3 separate regions of the Homo sapiens genome follow, and regions 2 and 3 are each linked to region 1. Evidence: promoter capture Hi-C in 16 types of primary human blood cells and fetal thymus (Javierre and others, 2016). All regions are on one chromosome and are shown on one strand. The core of a region is centred on a gene start or on the middle of the fragment in contact, and the rest is flanking DNA. Distances in the headings are between cores, read along the strand shown.

The links. The method cuts DNA at HindIII sites, captures the fragments that hold promoters and counts their contacts. A CHiCAGO score of 5 or more calls a contact.
Region 2: a contact is called between the fragment with the promoter of ITPRID2 here and the fragment with the promoter of ZC3H15 in region 1, in 1 of 17 cell types (total B cells). The highest score is 8.3, in total B cells.
Region 3: a contact is called between the fragment with the promoter of ASNSD1 here and the fragment with the promoter of ZC3H15 in region 1, in 1 of 17 cell types (naive CD8 T cells). The highest score is 7.9, in naive CD8 T cells.

Annotation. Positions count from the first base shown.
Region 1 is chr2:186,483,614-186,488,660 of GRCh38, reverse strand. ZC3H15 (zinc finger CCCH-type containing 15) reads right to left here and starts at 2,401. Exons shown (of 10, transcript NM_018471.3): 1 at 2,204-2,401. The coding sequence starts at 2,278. It overlaps LOC105373785 (a long non-coding RNA gene), which reads left to right and starts at 2,661. Exons shown (of 2, transcript XR_001739147.3): 1 at 2,661-2,861. It also overlaps the pseudogene DPRXP1. RefSeq lists an enhancer at 2,292-2,771. The HindIII fragment of the contact is 12,604 bases long and covers 1-5,047 here.
Region 2 is chr2:181,888,961-181,894,007 of GRCh38, reverse strand. It overlaps ITPRID2 (ITPR interacting domain containing 2), which reads right to left and starts at 2,278. Exons shown (of 18, transcript NM_001130445.3): 1 at 1,731-2,278; 2 at 1,348-1,393. The coding sequence starts at 1,941. RefSeq lists silencers at 1,642-1,781, 2,072-2,401. The HindIII fragment of the contact is 2,528 bases long and covers 131-2,658 here.
Region 3 is chr2:189,659,032-189,664,078 of GRCh38, reverse strand. ASNSD1 (asparagine synthetase domain containing 1) reads right to left here and starts at 2,620. Exons shown (of 6, transcript NM_019048.4): 1 at 2,469-2,620; 2 at 125-178. It overlaps ASDURF (ASNSD1 upstream open reading frame), which reads right to left and starts at 2,620. Exons shown (of 4, transcript NM_001353493.2): 1 at 2,469-2,620; 2 at 125-178. The coding sequence starts at 2,558. RefSeq lists an enhancer at 2,373-2,562. The HindIII fragment of the contact is 6,437 bases long and covers 1-5,047 here.

The sequences.
Region 1 (5,047 bases), core at 1,152-3,651:
AACACCGCCTCTAACCCATTTTGGAATCCTAAGTTTGTTTTTCAAGCGTCAATTATAACGTCTTTTGGTTCCTCCAAGTAGAGAGAGACACTAAACACAAAAGGTGACATATTGTAATGGTTCCCATACAAGAGAATACTTTTCAGCAATAAGGAACATACTAGAAATATACACAACATGCATGGATCTCAAAAACACTGCATGGTGTGAAAGCAAGAAGAAGGACACAAAGGCTACCTACTGTATAATTTATATGAGTTCCTAGAGTGGTAAAAACTAATCTATCCTGTCAAAAAAATTAGTGGCTGCACGTGTGGAAAGAATTAAATAGAAAGAGGCACAAAACAAATTTAGTGGGGTGATAGAAATGTTTCAAGTCTTAATTAGGGTGGCAGCTACCTGGGTGAATAAATTCCTCAAAACACATAGAACTATACATCTAGAACCTGTACATTTTATTTTACATAAGTTATACCTCAACAAAAAATAAATTAAAAAAATAATATATATTAAATGTAGAAAACACAAAATCGGGCTTAATTTCACCACTTTGTTGTTGTTAATATTTTTAGTTAAAAAGTGCAGTTGTCTTATTTTGCATTTTTCTTTGGAGATACCTTCATTATTGAAACTAAAATTGCTTTCTCTTTAGCTAAAAAATAATTTCGTCACAAGATGACTAGAATCATAACATATGCATCATTTTAAAAGTTGATGGATACTATAAACAACTTTCACACATAATTCCTTAAAATAAGAATACTAGTCCTACTAATTAAAAATAAAACAATTAGATATAGAGAAAGCTCTACAATGCATGAAGTATAATTTAAATTGTCTAAATTATTACATAACATTTAATTTCAATGGGAGTTTTACTTCGTATCAGGGTCCAATCTCGAGGAAAACGACATCCCTAAAATGTCCTTGGTTTTCATAAAAGTGAATGCCATCCGATCAGCAACCCCTGAAATTTACCTAAGTGCCACGAATCCAGATTGTTCAAATAAGGTAATAGAAAACACAGATGTGAAGGTAATATTTTGTTTTTAAGTGTCTGGCTATAGTACTTCATGACAGTTTTAAACTGTACAAATTGGCAATAAGAATACCAGTTCTCCTCCAAAGTTGGAACCTGGCCAAGTATAGCAAAATTCTTAAGCATTTTCTTAAATCCAATGAGCAGACTTTACACCTTATGCGGTAAAATGGTCATGGCTTTTTCTAATTATATCCAAAGTACAAGAGGTCCTATTTAATTATGAGGAGGATTAATAGCAGAAATCGAGGGAAGAAATACCTCGTTGGGGTCTGTATGGTATGTTTACGTAATGTCAAATATGGTTCATCTTTTAAGGAAACTCAATTCAGTTGTTGGAAAACAAGTGCACAACATGTAAGAACGTCAATAGCGTTCCTTGGCCATTAAAGGGCTACAGGCTCAATGTGTTAAACGAATATATATACACACACATATATACACATATACACACACATAGATGTATACATATATACACGCGCACACACACACATATATCTCAAACTGGGTTACGGGACTTCACACAATTAGTGACACTGAAACCTAATCTCTTTTAAGGCGTTATCCTATTTAATCCACTTCAGAATGTAAGTACCAAGCTCTGCGTTCAAGACCCTGGGTTGTGACGGAAAGTCCTTCCATTCTTTATGGGACTTTAAACATTTCAGAGGTGGATCGAAAAAGCCACCAAGTCGTAATTTGTTGGTTCAAAAGAACTAACAGTACCATCCCTGGGTGACGGGTAAAGAAATAACGAACACAAAGACTCGTCATGAGTCGGTCTTCCAGAAAGACGCTGGCCCGAGACCGTTCAGCGTATTTCTTCACACATAACCTTGGAAAATCTCCTCAATTCTGAGAGGACTAGCGAAGGATAAAACCCTGTGCCAGTCCCGAGGGGTCATTTCGCACCCGGGTGCATGGGTGGGTGAACACGGGCGTGTGGGCGGAGAGGCAAAGCCCAGGTGCGGGGGCGCCAGCAGCGTCACTATAGTAATGAGAGAGCTAGCGTCATCAGGGGCTGGAGAAGGGGCAGTGGGCCACACAGGCCTAAGGGAGGAACACGTGGCCCGAGGAAGCGAGCCGGCTCCCAGGGAAGCCCGGAGCGGGGAAGTGGCTTTCCGGAGGGCTCGCGGCGTGAGTGGGGGAGGGGTGGGTACTCACTTCGATAATCTTCTCCTTCTTTTTTTGCTCCGCCTTTTTGCTGCCCCCGGCCTGAGCCTGTTTCTTGGGGGGCATTGCGGAGACAGATGGCACCGGCCAGACTTACGCGCAGCTGAATACCGTCAGGGGTTCTGGCCCTGCGGCAGGACGAGGAGGAAGACCGGGGCCTCACTCGCCGCACCGCACGGAAAGCGAGTCGCTCATTGGCCCCGCAAACGCGGCCTTTGCGACAGGTCGATGTCGCAGAGCATAGTGGGTAGCGAGGAGCGGCTCCCGGAAGCGGAGCTGCGCGTGCGCGCCCACTGCGTCCCACTAGGAGGGGGCAGGGACGGGACGTGGGAAAATGACTACGCGTCACTCGTGATGTCGCGCATCCGATAGGCCCTTTTCAGATGGCAAAAGGCCTGAGGGTGAATCTGGGCGAGCTGGTTGAGTCCATGCGTTTGTGCTTCCTCTCAGTCCACTTTCGCTTACGATGGGGCGACTCTTGTCCATCGTCACCTCACCGGGAAACTTTTCCTGCCGGGCCAGTTAATGGTCCCCTGTACCATCCCCATCCTGAGTGACTACTAAGCAGCCGCAGCGACTCGGGGTTGCTCCGTGACCACGTTACTCAGTTAACCTTCTTGTTCCCTGGAGAGGCGGAGCTGAATGGCCCGTGAGTGTCGCGTGCTTCAGATTCCTGCGAAGGATTATTTAAAAAATGGAAAAAGTTAACTTTCATTTGCAGGGTCCCTTTCATTTGAAGAGCATCTGAGATGGCGTCCCAGATAAGGAGGCACTTGAACTCCTTAGAAGTACTGTATTAAGTTATTTTGAGACTTTAGGAGAGTGCCTAGGTGATTCCTAAAAATTCCTTTATAACGTGAAAGTAACCAAACTTAGTTAGAACTTAGTTTAAGTGCTTGGTAGCTCCAGAAATTCCTTGGCACATTACACACACTATTTCATTTAGTTATCACAACGACACTTAGGTGGGAGTTGTTACTGTTTTCGTTTTATAGATGAAGCAGAGAAAGGAAGAAAGATGCCCAAAGTTATATTAAGGACAGAGCCAGCAATTGTAATCTTGGCAGTCCGGCTTCAGCCTATATGCCTATTACCTAACATTACAAACTTAGATCCTGTTTGAAAAGGTACTTGAATGATGAATGGGACCCATTGATATTTGTACAAACGAAAATACTATTTTTTAAAAATGTACAATGCTTAGCTGTTATTTTTTAAAATGATTATTGTTTAAACTATTTCTGTTAAGAAGCATTGTGGAACCAAGAATCATCTTTATAGATAAAAGTTTTTTTATCTTTTTCATTAATTTGAATAGGGAGAAAACGATAAGCCCCCCTACTTAGTCAAATTGATTATTTGCTTAGTAATTTTCTACGTAAGATAATGTCAAGGAACCCCAAGTATGTTTTGTGTGTGTATGTGTGTGTGTAGAAGAAATGTGATAGCTACTAAAAAGAATTGTGTCGAGAATGGCAGGTGTATGTTGACACACTTTTTTTCATTTGGGCTCATATTGGCAGGTTAATGGGCTCCCCCCCTTTTACATATTTTCATCTTTATTTTTTGTAATTGTCATAGTTCTTGTCAGAGGATGGAGGGATGCAGCCAGCCCCCTCTTTACTCAGTATTATTATCCATTTGATTATTTGGGGATCGTCTCCTTTGAGACTTTGTTTGCATATGGAATGTAGTTGTCTTAACTTCCTACTTTTAGTGCCCCAAAGATGCCCTTTGGGCCTTTGATTTTGAGTAATTTTACTGATTATTATTATGAGGCAAATGAATTATAAGTAACAAATATGGGGAAGTTACAAAGAATCTAGAGTCTCATAATGTTATGATAATGGCTCCAGTTTCATGGTTCATAACTTCTTCTGTCTCCTGACCTTTGCTTTCGGTTTTTTCCTCTGAAGTGTAGCCCAGGTAGAGAACAAAGATCCTTTCTTGCCTCAAGTGGAAAATACACATTTCTGAATATAGTACATGCTCTTATAGCACTCTCCCTCGTACACTATTTCTTCATACATTTTAGAAATAAGGAAGTCCAACTCATTGAATTCACTACTTTTTGAAATAAGGTACATGGTTTTTCCTGGTCTCAAATAGCAAATGGTAGCAGGGCTGGGACTTTTATGTCTTCTACTGCTATTTTTATTGACCTTACAATTCAAACGAAACTTTCACAAAACAGTGCTTAGAAGGCATAGTCCAAGGGTTACAATTCATATACCCAAGAAAGCAGGGCTATAAACTTGAGCGTCAGGATGAGTGAAATACATTAGGAAGTTGTGGGAACAGTGTTAAACCTGAGGTAAATGCCCACCGTAAAAGAACTAAAAGAAAAACTGTCAAACCTGACTGCTTCGATTTGGTAGACAGGCTGTGAATTTACTGCCTTGGATATAGCCATTTGGATAACTTTACATTTATTGGAATGTATCAGATGTAATAGATTAAGGCAGTAGATTTTGTACTGAATAGAAATTATTGTTTGCTATCCAGCATTCTAATGTCCTTCTGTATAGGAAGGAAGCCCTATGTCTCAGGCTTTTAATCTCAAGAAAACAAGACAAAGACTCAAAGTGTAGGAATTTTTCAGGGCATTAGAGTGCATGTATGGTATTACCAGTCCAGTGGCGGCAGGCCAGTGTGGCAAGATCCATACAAGTCCTTACTTCATTCTTTGCTATTATTTCTTGCTTCTTTTATTTCCCAAGCCTGATTTTCCAGGCTTCCTATAGATTCTGTGAACAATATTTCCATAAACATATTTGAAGACATAGCTAGAAGGTGGCCATCTGCAAGCCAAGAGAGAAGCCTTGGAAGAAACCA
Region 2 (5,047 bases), core at 1,029-3,528, 4.6 Mb after region 1:
CTTTAAAGGACTTAAGTAAAAGTTACAAAACAACTTCTCAAACACATTTCTAAGTGGAAACCTGAAAGATACTAGTTTTATCAGATCTCACCCAAAAGGTCTTGAACATGTACATTCAAAATTTCAAGCTTTTACATTATAGACTATTTTAGTATTTAACAATTAAATGAACCAATAGCACATTAATACAATTTCTTGATCCATACTTTGAGTGAAGTATCTAATATCTAAGGCTTATCTGAAAACTGGGAGATTGATTTACAGCTAGATTGTAAATCTGGGGTCCAAGGACTTCAAGCAGTGTATTTGCCTCTGTGCATCTTTAAACAGAAGTTATTCCATATATGTCATCATATTTCAGAAGGGTCTATGACACTTCCAATAAAGGGTACGAGTTCTGTAATAAAGAGTGTTCAATAAGGTTCCAGTCGATTCATCAAAACAAGGCATTAATATCATGGTAGCCAATATCTTGTCTGTCTTTAGAGGAGGCAAACTGGCATATGAATCACTTTCCACAACAAAACAAAACAAACTACCCTAACTCTAATATTTGAACAAAATATTAAGAAAATCTAAATTGAGAAAGCAAAAATATGCTCGAAAGCAAACACCAACAAAAGTTTAAAGGCTACATTCCTGATTTTACAACTAGCAAAGTGGAATAAGAAACAAGTACATTTTGCTGTAGTCAGATTTACGTGCAACATGATTCATCTCCTCTGTATTTTATCAAACATTTTTGTACCAGTTGCCAAAGCATGTAATTAAACAGATTTATGCAGTCTGAATGCTTTTAAAAGTTCTATTCCCTGAGAATTCCAGTGCCATCTGACAATTCCATGTTCAAGAAGTAAACTATAAGTACAAAGTTAGCTAGTTTTAATAGCTCCCCAAACAGAAACAAAATTAAAGCCCATTTAGTGTAGTTAGGTAAATTAAACTCGTCTAAAACACATTTGAAAGGAAAATGATTCCGTGCCAGTTGTACAGATGCCAAAACTAAAGCAAAACAAAATATCCTGTTCGAGATGTGAGAATTCTTTCAAATAAAAACAGAACAAATATGGCATGATTATCTGTTCTGGATTTCTGATCTCTGATGCTAACACGATGCGTGAGTAGCTCAAGTCCTAACTGTAAAGTCAACACGGTCACCAAATAATCAGCGGTCACAGCACTTCCATTTCTAATCGCTTAGAGGAGGAAGCTATCCGCCGGCTCACTTTCCGGTTTGTAGCTTACAACGGTCGCGGGACCCACAGGGACGCGGCCCGAGTGGCTCTGCTCCGGCGTCCCGTCCGCACGGATCTCCCCCGGGACGCGGGCGGACCAGGGAGCACTCACCGGCAGTCCTTGAGCCATATCGCGATCTTCTCGTTGGGCACGTTTCCTGGGGGTAGAGAGAGGGGACAGCACGTTACCACCCAGGAGCACTACGACGGCGGAGTCACCCTGGACCCTCCCAAGTAGGAAAATCTACCACGGCAAATGCAGCCTAAGCGACACGTCTCAGTGTCCCTTGGCAGGGAAATCGGATGGCACCCAGTTGTCTGTGTTGACGCTGGGGGCGCCTCGTTCAGCGCGCGCGTTTGAAGGTCGGAAGTGTCCCCTCTCCCCTCGGCCTACCGTGCCCGAGGCTCTCCCAGAACTCGTGGCAGGCGCCCAGGGCGCACGAGACTCTCCCCAGCCCACCAGCCTCCCCCCGGAGCCCGGCCGGGAGCACCGACCTCTTCCCCCCGCTGCCGGCAGCTGCGCGCCGGGGAGGTCCTCCTCCTCGTCCTCCTCCTCGTCCTGCGTCGTCGCTTCTGTGGACAGATCCTCCGTCTCCGACGCTTGCCAGGAGCTGCGGCACTTGGCCCAGGCCTTCCTCCTGCGACTCGCCACTTGCCACTCCAGTTCCTCCTCCGCCTCCGCCGACGACGACAGGGGCCGGTCCATGGCCGCACTGGGGGCTCCGCTACCCCAGCCGGACCCTGCGCGAGACAAGGCGGCGGCAGGGACCCCCGCCCTTGCTGTCAGCGCCCGGCCGGGCAGGGGGCCCCGGGGAGCTGAAGCGGGCGCCGGAGGAGGAGGAGGAGGAGGAGGGGACAGGGAGGGAGGGAGGGAAGGAAGGGGAGGGAAGGGGCGGAGGGCCGGCGCTTCACATGAAGGCGGCCGGGCGCGCGCGGGAGCGCTAGTGGCCCGAGGGAGCGCGGCTGGGAGCCGAGCGCCCGCCCGGCCCCTGCTCCCCACCCCCTGCCTGACGCGCCCGGAGCAGGCCGGCCGCTGCGCGTCTGCGCGCCTTCCCTCGGCGGCGGCCCACGCCCCCTTCCGGCCGGGGCCGCGCGGGGCGCGGTAGGGCGGGGCGCGCCCGGCGCGACGCGGAGCAGGCCAGCCCCCGACTACTGCCCGCGGAATGGGCAAGATTAGTTTGTTAATAATCTTTCCTCCTCTCCTCCTCCTCCTCCCTCACCTAAAAATAGAACGTAAGTGGGGAGGCCAAGTCTCACAAAACATCCCCCGCGAGAAAACAAGTGTCTGCTTGGGCACCCTGAAACATACACTTGAAAGAGTCGCCTGAATATAGACTCTTTAGTGTCCAAGGAATTGGGGTAAGGACGGAAAGAGGTGCTTGATTGGTGTTGCCAAAATGTAAAAACTGCAAAAGACTAAGCTTCCTGGAGTGCTACTTTCATACTTAAAGTTATTTATCGTGTTTATGTTATGAATGAAAATGAATTGTGAAAGGATATTTAATCTGGAAATTTCACATTGAAGTTGGACTTTGGTGAGGGAGAATAGAGGAAACAATTGGGACAATGTGGAGATAGTTGCTTGGATTTTGGTGAGACAGCATGATACAAGAAACAAATGATGTCAGGGTTCAAAACTTTTTAAAGCCAGCTTTGGCATTCCGTTTTGTTATGTTTAAATTCTCATTAGCAAAAATACTCAAATTCTATCCAAAACCAGACACAATGTGACAGACCTATCAAGCAGCATTGTTCCCCTAAATGTTACATCTGAACTATACATATAAGTAAGGCTTCCAATATTTTATTGTACTTGGCTATGCTCTGAAGAACAAGTTAGAACACTTTTTAAAATCTTAACGTGATTGAAAAGAATATTTTGCGTAGACAAAATATTTTAAGGAAGGAATTATTTTTCATTTGAAATTAAAATCCAGAGCATAGTAAAATTCCTAATGGAAGCATTCGAATTACAAGGTAATTAAGTGCATTGTCATTGATAGCTACAGGAAACCATAACTTTTGGAGAATTTGGAATGAAGAATGCTCTGGAGATGAAATAGTGCCTAGTTTTTGTCCAGGCATTTACACATAAGTCATAGACTACTAAAATAGCACACTGATTTTCCTGCCTTCATTCTTTCCTATCTCCTTTCTAGCGCATTGCTCTAGATTTACAATTCCAAGACATCTTCTAATGGTTTACTAATATCCCCAAGATCAAATCCAAAATCCAGACTAGCTTTCCAGAACCATCATAATATTCTCCTGAGTCTCATCTATGTACTGCCAAATGTCAGGGGAGTTAGAACAGTGATATTAATATCTCTATGGCTTGAAATTTCACTACTAGAAAATCTTTTCTTTGAACCTATAAGACTTTCTCAGCCTTCAAGGGTCCTGTAGTAGGATGCAGCTAACAGTTTAATGGCTCTCCAAAATAGGTCAGAGTCTCGCTGCCTGTGTGGAAGATGAAAAAGAGAATGAATAAAGAAGGTACCTAAGAAGAAGCATTGAAAGGGCTGGTCAAGTGCCACAAAATATGCTGCCTTCAAAGTTTTATCCAGGGTTCTTACGTATCCACCCTGTTCCTCTGCTGCTCCCAGCTTCAATTCTATCATATCTAAGTGCTGTTGCCTACTCTGTCTTTGCTAATTAATTCATTCCTGTTCTTTCTGTCCACTACCTTCATGACTTTCAAAATCTAGCTAAGCCAGAACTTTTTGACTCCACCATTCCACCACTCCTGATCACACCCCTCCCACAGGGATCTGATATACAACAGCATGTCTATGTCATTTATTTGGGGACTGGATTGTAGAGTAAATAATATGACTGGCCCTGGAAGGTATGTTTGGCTTACTAGCCAGATTGTAAATTGTGAGAGATGATAGAACATTCTTCAGTATTCTTGCACCCCTTACACTTTTAAATGCTGATCCCACAAGGGATAATGGGTCTTCTTGAGGTAGTTTCTGTTTTCTGTGTTCTTCAAAGAGACACCTAAATTGATTATTTTAAAATTTGCTTCATGTTATTTCTATAATGCTTATATTTTATTTAGGTTTGCAGTTGTTTAAATACACTTTCAGATGACAACAACAAAGAATTCTTGTGAAAGGCAATAATTAACCATAGTTTAAAAAAAAATCAAACAACCAGAGTCAAGTAATAAGGGGGAAAAATTACCAGCAGGTAACAAAGTAGAATATATACATTATTCAGTTTCCGGTAGCACAAATGTGTGCTTTCTTCTACATGGCATTTTTTAATGAAATATGTTGAGGGTATAGAAGTAATAGAGAAGGAAATCCTTGAAGTAGTATGCTATTGCCTTGAAAAGTAAGGTTTTTTCATTGTATTCTCAACTTTTACAGATGTTTTAAAATGCCCAAGGTATTTCATTTATTCGATAATGAATACTACACATGAAGAAAGTCTGCATGTTTGCTTCTTCGAGGATTTTCTCCCAAACAAGTACTATCTTGTACACCAACTGCAAATATACATTGCGAAGCTCTACATAAAGAGTATTGTCTGGGCCAGGCATGGTGGCTCACACCTGTAATCCCAGCACTTTGGGAGGCTGAGGCGGGGCAGATCACCTGAGGTCAGGAGTTTGAGACCAGCCTGACCAACATGGAGAAACCCTGTCTCTACTAAAAATACAAAATTAGCCATGCATGGTGGCGAATGCCTGTAATTCCACCAACTTGGGAGGCTAAGGCAGGAGAATAGCTTGAACCCAGGAGGCAGAGGTTGCGGTGAGCTGAGATTGTGCCATTGCACTCCAGCCTGGGCAAAAAGAGTGA
Region 3 (5,047 bases), core at 1,371-3,870, 3.2 Mb before region 1:
TGCTGAAATACTATACATTTTATTAAAGTATGATTAAATCTTATATATACTTCTTATAACTTTAATATATAGTTAACATAAATAAACCTCCCACATATTATTCAGAATTCCTATAATAACTCACCCTATTCTTCTTAAGGTTAGAAAGTTCATCCACCACAATTTTTTGTTCTTTAATCTATTGAAATAAAGAAAAACTCCTTAAGTCAGATGTTTTCAAAGTATGCTCAATGAAAATCCCTTAAGGGGTTGTTTTAAAATTAGAGATGGGATAAGGGGCTATGATGTACTGGTTTTCCAAACGGGCAGTTTGTGAATATACAGATCATTTTCAACAGGAGTCTCTGTGTGGGGGTACAGTTCAGGAAAAGCTGGAGGAGAAAAAACAGTGATTAGACTTGCAAAATGTTAGGTAACCCATTAAGACCAGACAGGGATTTTCGTGTTCATAACCAGCAATCATGCCAAGGACTACAGTTACTAAACAAGGTTTATACCTTTTGTTAAAAATATATGATATACACCAGGCCGGGTGCGGTGGCTCATGCCTGTAATCCCAGCACTTCGGGAGGCCAAGGCGGGCGGATCACCTGAAGTCGGGAGTTCGAGACCAGCCTGACCAACATGCAGACACCCCATCTCTACTAAAAATACAAAATTAGCCAAGCGTAGTGGCACATGCCTGTAATCCCAGCTATTCGGGAGGCTGAGGCAGGAGAACTGCTTGAACCCGGGAGGCGGAGGCTGCAGTGAGCCAAGATTGCACCACTGCACTCTAGCCTGGGCAACAAGAGTGAAACTCCGTCTCAAAAAAATAAATAAATAAATAATTTAAAAAATATATATATATGATATACACCAAAAGGAATTAAGTTGTGATTTAGATTGAAAATTAAGTTGTGATTTAGATTTAAAAAAAAGCAAATTGAATGAGGGGTGGGTTACTTTTTTCAATATTTTCATGATTTTATGTACTAAGTGCTGCAGTCAAACATTCAAATCAAGCAATGCCCTATTTGGGGACAGTAAGACCTATCATGTTCCATCTTGGTATTTTTCCCTCTTTTTATCTCAATGACTAGCATAGAGCTGGCACTGTTGAACTGGGCTTTTTTTTTTTTTTTTTTTTTGAAACAGGGTCTTGCTCTGTTACCCAGGCTGGAGTGCAGTGGTGCGATCACGGCTCACTGCAGCTTTGATCTTCCCGGGCTCAGGCGATTCTCACACCTTAGCCTCCGAGTAGCTGGGACTACAGGCCTGGGCCACCATGCTGGCCTGGGCTTCATTTATTTGTAGGGGAGGGCTCAACTAAGTGAAAACTAAGTTTCTTTTTAACTCTATTTATTTTGTGAACATGACTGATTACATAGTATCACAAGAGCCTCTAAAAGCAGCTTTTATCATATTTGTGCTACCTCACACACACCTCAGGGATCTGTAACCACCAGTATGCGTAAGTGGCTTGCTATGGTGGTAATCAGAATGGGCTGTGTGTCTTTTGAAAATTCACCCCCAATCCCCATGAATGTGCACCTTTCTGTCTCCCCCGTTGGCAGAGCTGTAGTAATGAGGTTGAATTCCAAGGCCAAATTTGTAAACATTCTTTGAGACTTAACATTTATACAGGGCTTTCCCATTTTAGGAATGACAGGTGTACATTTCACTTTACTTCAAAGAAGGTAACTGATACAGAAAGATTAAAGAGACTTGCCCAAGATGTCATTGTAAGTTTGGGACAGAACCAAAGTAGAATCTAGGACATGTAATACCTGAAGGGCTATAACCCTCGCCACCCCCATTTATCTTTAAAGGTTGTTTGTTTATGGCAGTTAAGGCTTATATTATATTGGCTTCCTCTCTCCCCCAGTTTGGTATGAGTGACAACCCAATGCGTGTTTTAGGACCATTGCTCTGGTTAACGGAGAAGCAGCAGCTAACAGGTGGATGAGGAGAGACCGCTTAGGAAGGCCTTGCCGGGGGCAGGGGTCCCGATAGCAGATGACGGTGGCTTATTTGGGGTGGTAAGAGTGTTCACGGTGATAAAGGGACATATTTGAAATGAGCTTCAAAGGTAGAACTGATAGGCTTCCATGATGGGGGTCAAGGATGGACCCCGGGTTGCTGGCATGGTTAACTGGATGGAGAATATCTTTGATGGAACAGATTTGGGGTGGGCGGTATTTCCAAAAGTTTAAAAAGACTAGGGAGGAAAACACCCAACCAAAACTCCGCCCCACTGTCACCTGGGTCCAGTCTCGGGACAAATTTCAAGATCTCCCTTTTCGCAACTGTTTTCAGAAAATAAAAGGACTAACTGTGGCTGTCAAGTGCTATGAATAAAAAGAGCAAAGTAGCAGGGCAAAGCCGAGGCCCAGGCAGGCCCCACGCTGCCCGCTGCGGACCACCTTCAGGGTCCAGTGGCGCCCGGTCCCGAGTCCAGGAGCCTTTTCGTCGCGTCTCACACTCACCTTGCTGCTTAGATCCTCCTTGTGTGGGGTCGAATTGTCGGTGGGGATCAGCACAGAGCTGTCCTCTGGTCGCGTCCCTCGGCTGGGCATTTCCACCGAGCGCAAGACACGCGGGATGGCTCAGCCCTGAAGGAGCCTACGGCATTAGCCACAGCGCATGCGCGCTTCCAGCCGCGCTCACCCTTTCTTTTCCCGCGAGTCTTACCAATAGCGTCTGCGCGCTCACTTGAACGCATGCGCAGGCCGGGTCTGGCCTGGGGAGGAGTTTCGCGCCTGCGCATGGCTGCTTAGGGAGCGAGTAAACAGTCTGGTTGCAAAATCTGAGGTTCCTGTACTGGCCTCTTGTGGTTGAGATGCAGAAACGCTCAGGTGGTTTCTTCATGACCTCTTATCTAGTATACTACGAGTTCTGTGCGCCCTCCAGTGGTAAATATGAAGAATAGTCGTGCAATAGAAACAGCGCTTAATATGATATTTATTATCTAGGGAAAGATGAAGCTAAGGAACAGATTTAAGAGATACCGTGTTGGCAAAAGAACTGTACAGACTTGGTAAAGTTTTGGTTAACTCGTGGTTAGGGTTGCCGGATAAAATACAGTATGAACTTCAGATGAATTAATAGTTTTTTAGTGCATCTATGTCCCGTGCAATATTTGCAATATCTCATTTCTGTGGAAAAAATGACTAAAACTTGGAAATAGGCAAAAGAGATTTATTTACTGGATGCTCTTTCAGTGCTGCTCTGGACTTGACTTTATTATATTGACTGGGCTGTTTTACAATTCTGTAGGGGCAAAGGTTAACTTTGGTAGAGATTTTGGTTTGGTAGAGATGCAAATAATTTTTTGTTGTACCAGATACCAACACAGGTTATGATTTATTGTTCTGCAACACATTAGTCAGTTTTGTATCTAACCCTGCATTCTGTCCTAACATTTCTTTATTAACATATGCCTAGCTTCTCTAATATTCTGTATTGGTTTTAAAGTCATCGGTTCCCTCACTAACCAATGAGTTGAATAAAAGTTTGACATGTATATATTTTATGTTCACATTAGAGACATGATTTTAGGTTTTTGATAATTATACTATATTATTGGAAATCTTAAGTTTCCACAGAGATGCCCAACTGGATTTATGTGATGAATCAAACTATCTGGCGAAAGAAATGTATACATCATGGGTTGTTTAAGGCCAGGCATGTTTTTTATTTGCTCTTACAGAAAACCCAAGTGGTTATATATTTTTCCTTTATAATTGATTTTTAAAGATTGTGTTTTCATTTCTGATTTGTACATTCCTGATAAGTTATTCAGGTATAACTTATACATTACTGATACATTGATAGCAGCAATGATTGGGAGTTTGGTTTTGTGGTCTAACCATTTGGTGGTATCTGTTGGATGATGGACGTCTAGTCTCATTGGTAGAGAGGTAGATAGGTGCAGTGGCTCAAACCTGTAATCGCAACCACTCGGGGCTGAGGTGGGAGGATTACTTGAGGCCAGGGGTTCAAATAAATAAATAAGAGAGGTGACAGAGAAGCGAGTTTGTAAGTCTTTTTGTTTATTGTTTGTGAGCTCAAATTAATTAATTACTTTTGTGTCCACTGAGAGGGAAGGAGGACAGCTATTTGAGATGTGGGCTAGTAAGGTTTTGTTTGTTTGTTTTAACATAAAGGCCGCTCAAGCAGAAGAACTGGTGAATTTTTGTGGTTTTGTGTTTACTTTTGACCTGAGATTGAAGTTGTAAGACAGAAGCAATAACCTCTTTATGTGTCTGTGTGTCTGTAACTTAGAACAGGCTTTATGTCTCCCTTTGTAAATATGAAATATTTCCCTACTTCTGGAGTGTATTAATAAATCCCACTATAGTATCTCTAATTAAAGGGCCTCTGTTCTGACTAGTTTATAGAGAAAAATAAGCACTGGTATAATCCCAATATTTTTAAAAGCCCAGAATTTCCAATACTTTAAATGTGCCAGATTTTTAAGGAAAAAAGTTCTTACAAAACTGCTAGCTTAGAAACATTTTAAGAATCCAAGTTTAGGAAAAAGAGAGCTCCAAAGTGAAGTATCACTTCACTTTGTTGTTGTTGTTATTTTGAGACACAGTCTTTCTCTGTTGCCCTGGCTGGAGTGCAGTGGTGCGATCTCTGCTCACTGCAACCTCTGCCTTCTGGATTCAAGCTATTCTCCTGCCTCAGCTTCCCAAGTACCTGGGATTACAAGTGTGTGCCACCATGCCCGGCTGATTTTTGTATTTTTAGTAGAGATGGGGTTTCAGTATGTTGGCCAGGCTGGTCTCAAAGTCCTGGCTTCCAGCTATCTGCCCGCCTCAGCCTTCCAAAATGCTGGGGTTATAGGTGTGCGCTGCCAGGACTGGCTTCCACTTTGTTTAGAGGTAATAGTGAGGCTTATCTGTAAAGCTGATGAGACTGAGCATCCTAGCCTATTGGTCTTCTTTGTACCCCACCTTCTATTATAGTGTCTGGCAGAGTGGGAGCTCTGGTTAAAGTTTGAATTGGTTCTGACTCACAATCATGTCCACATCGAGTAGCCGGAAACACCCAACACCGC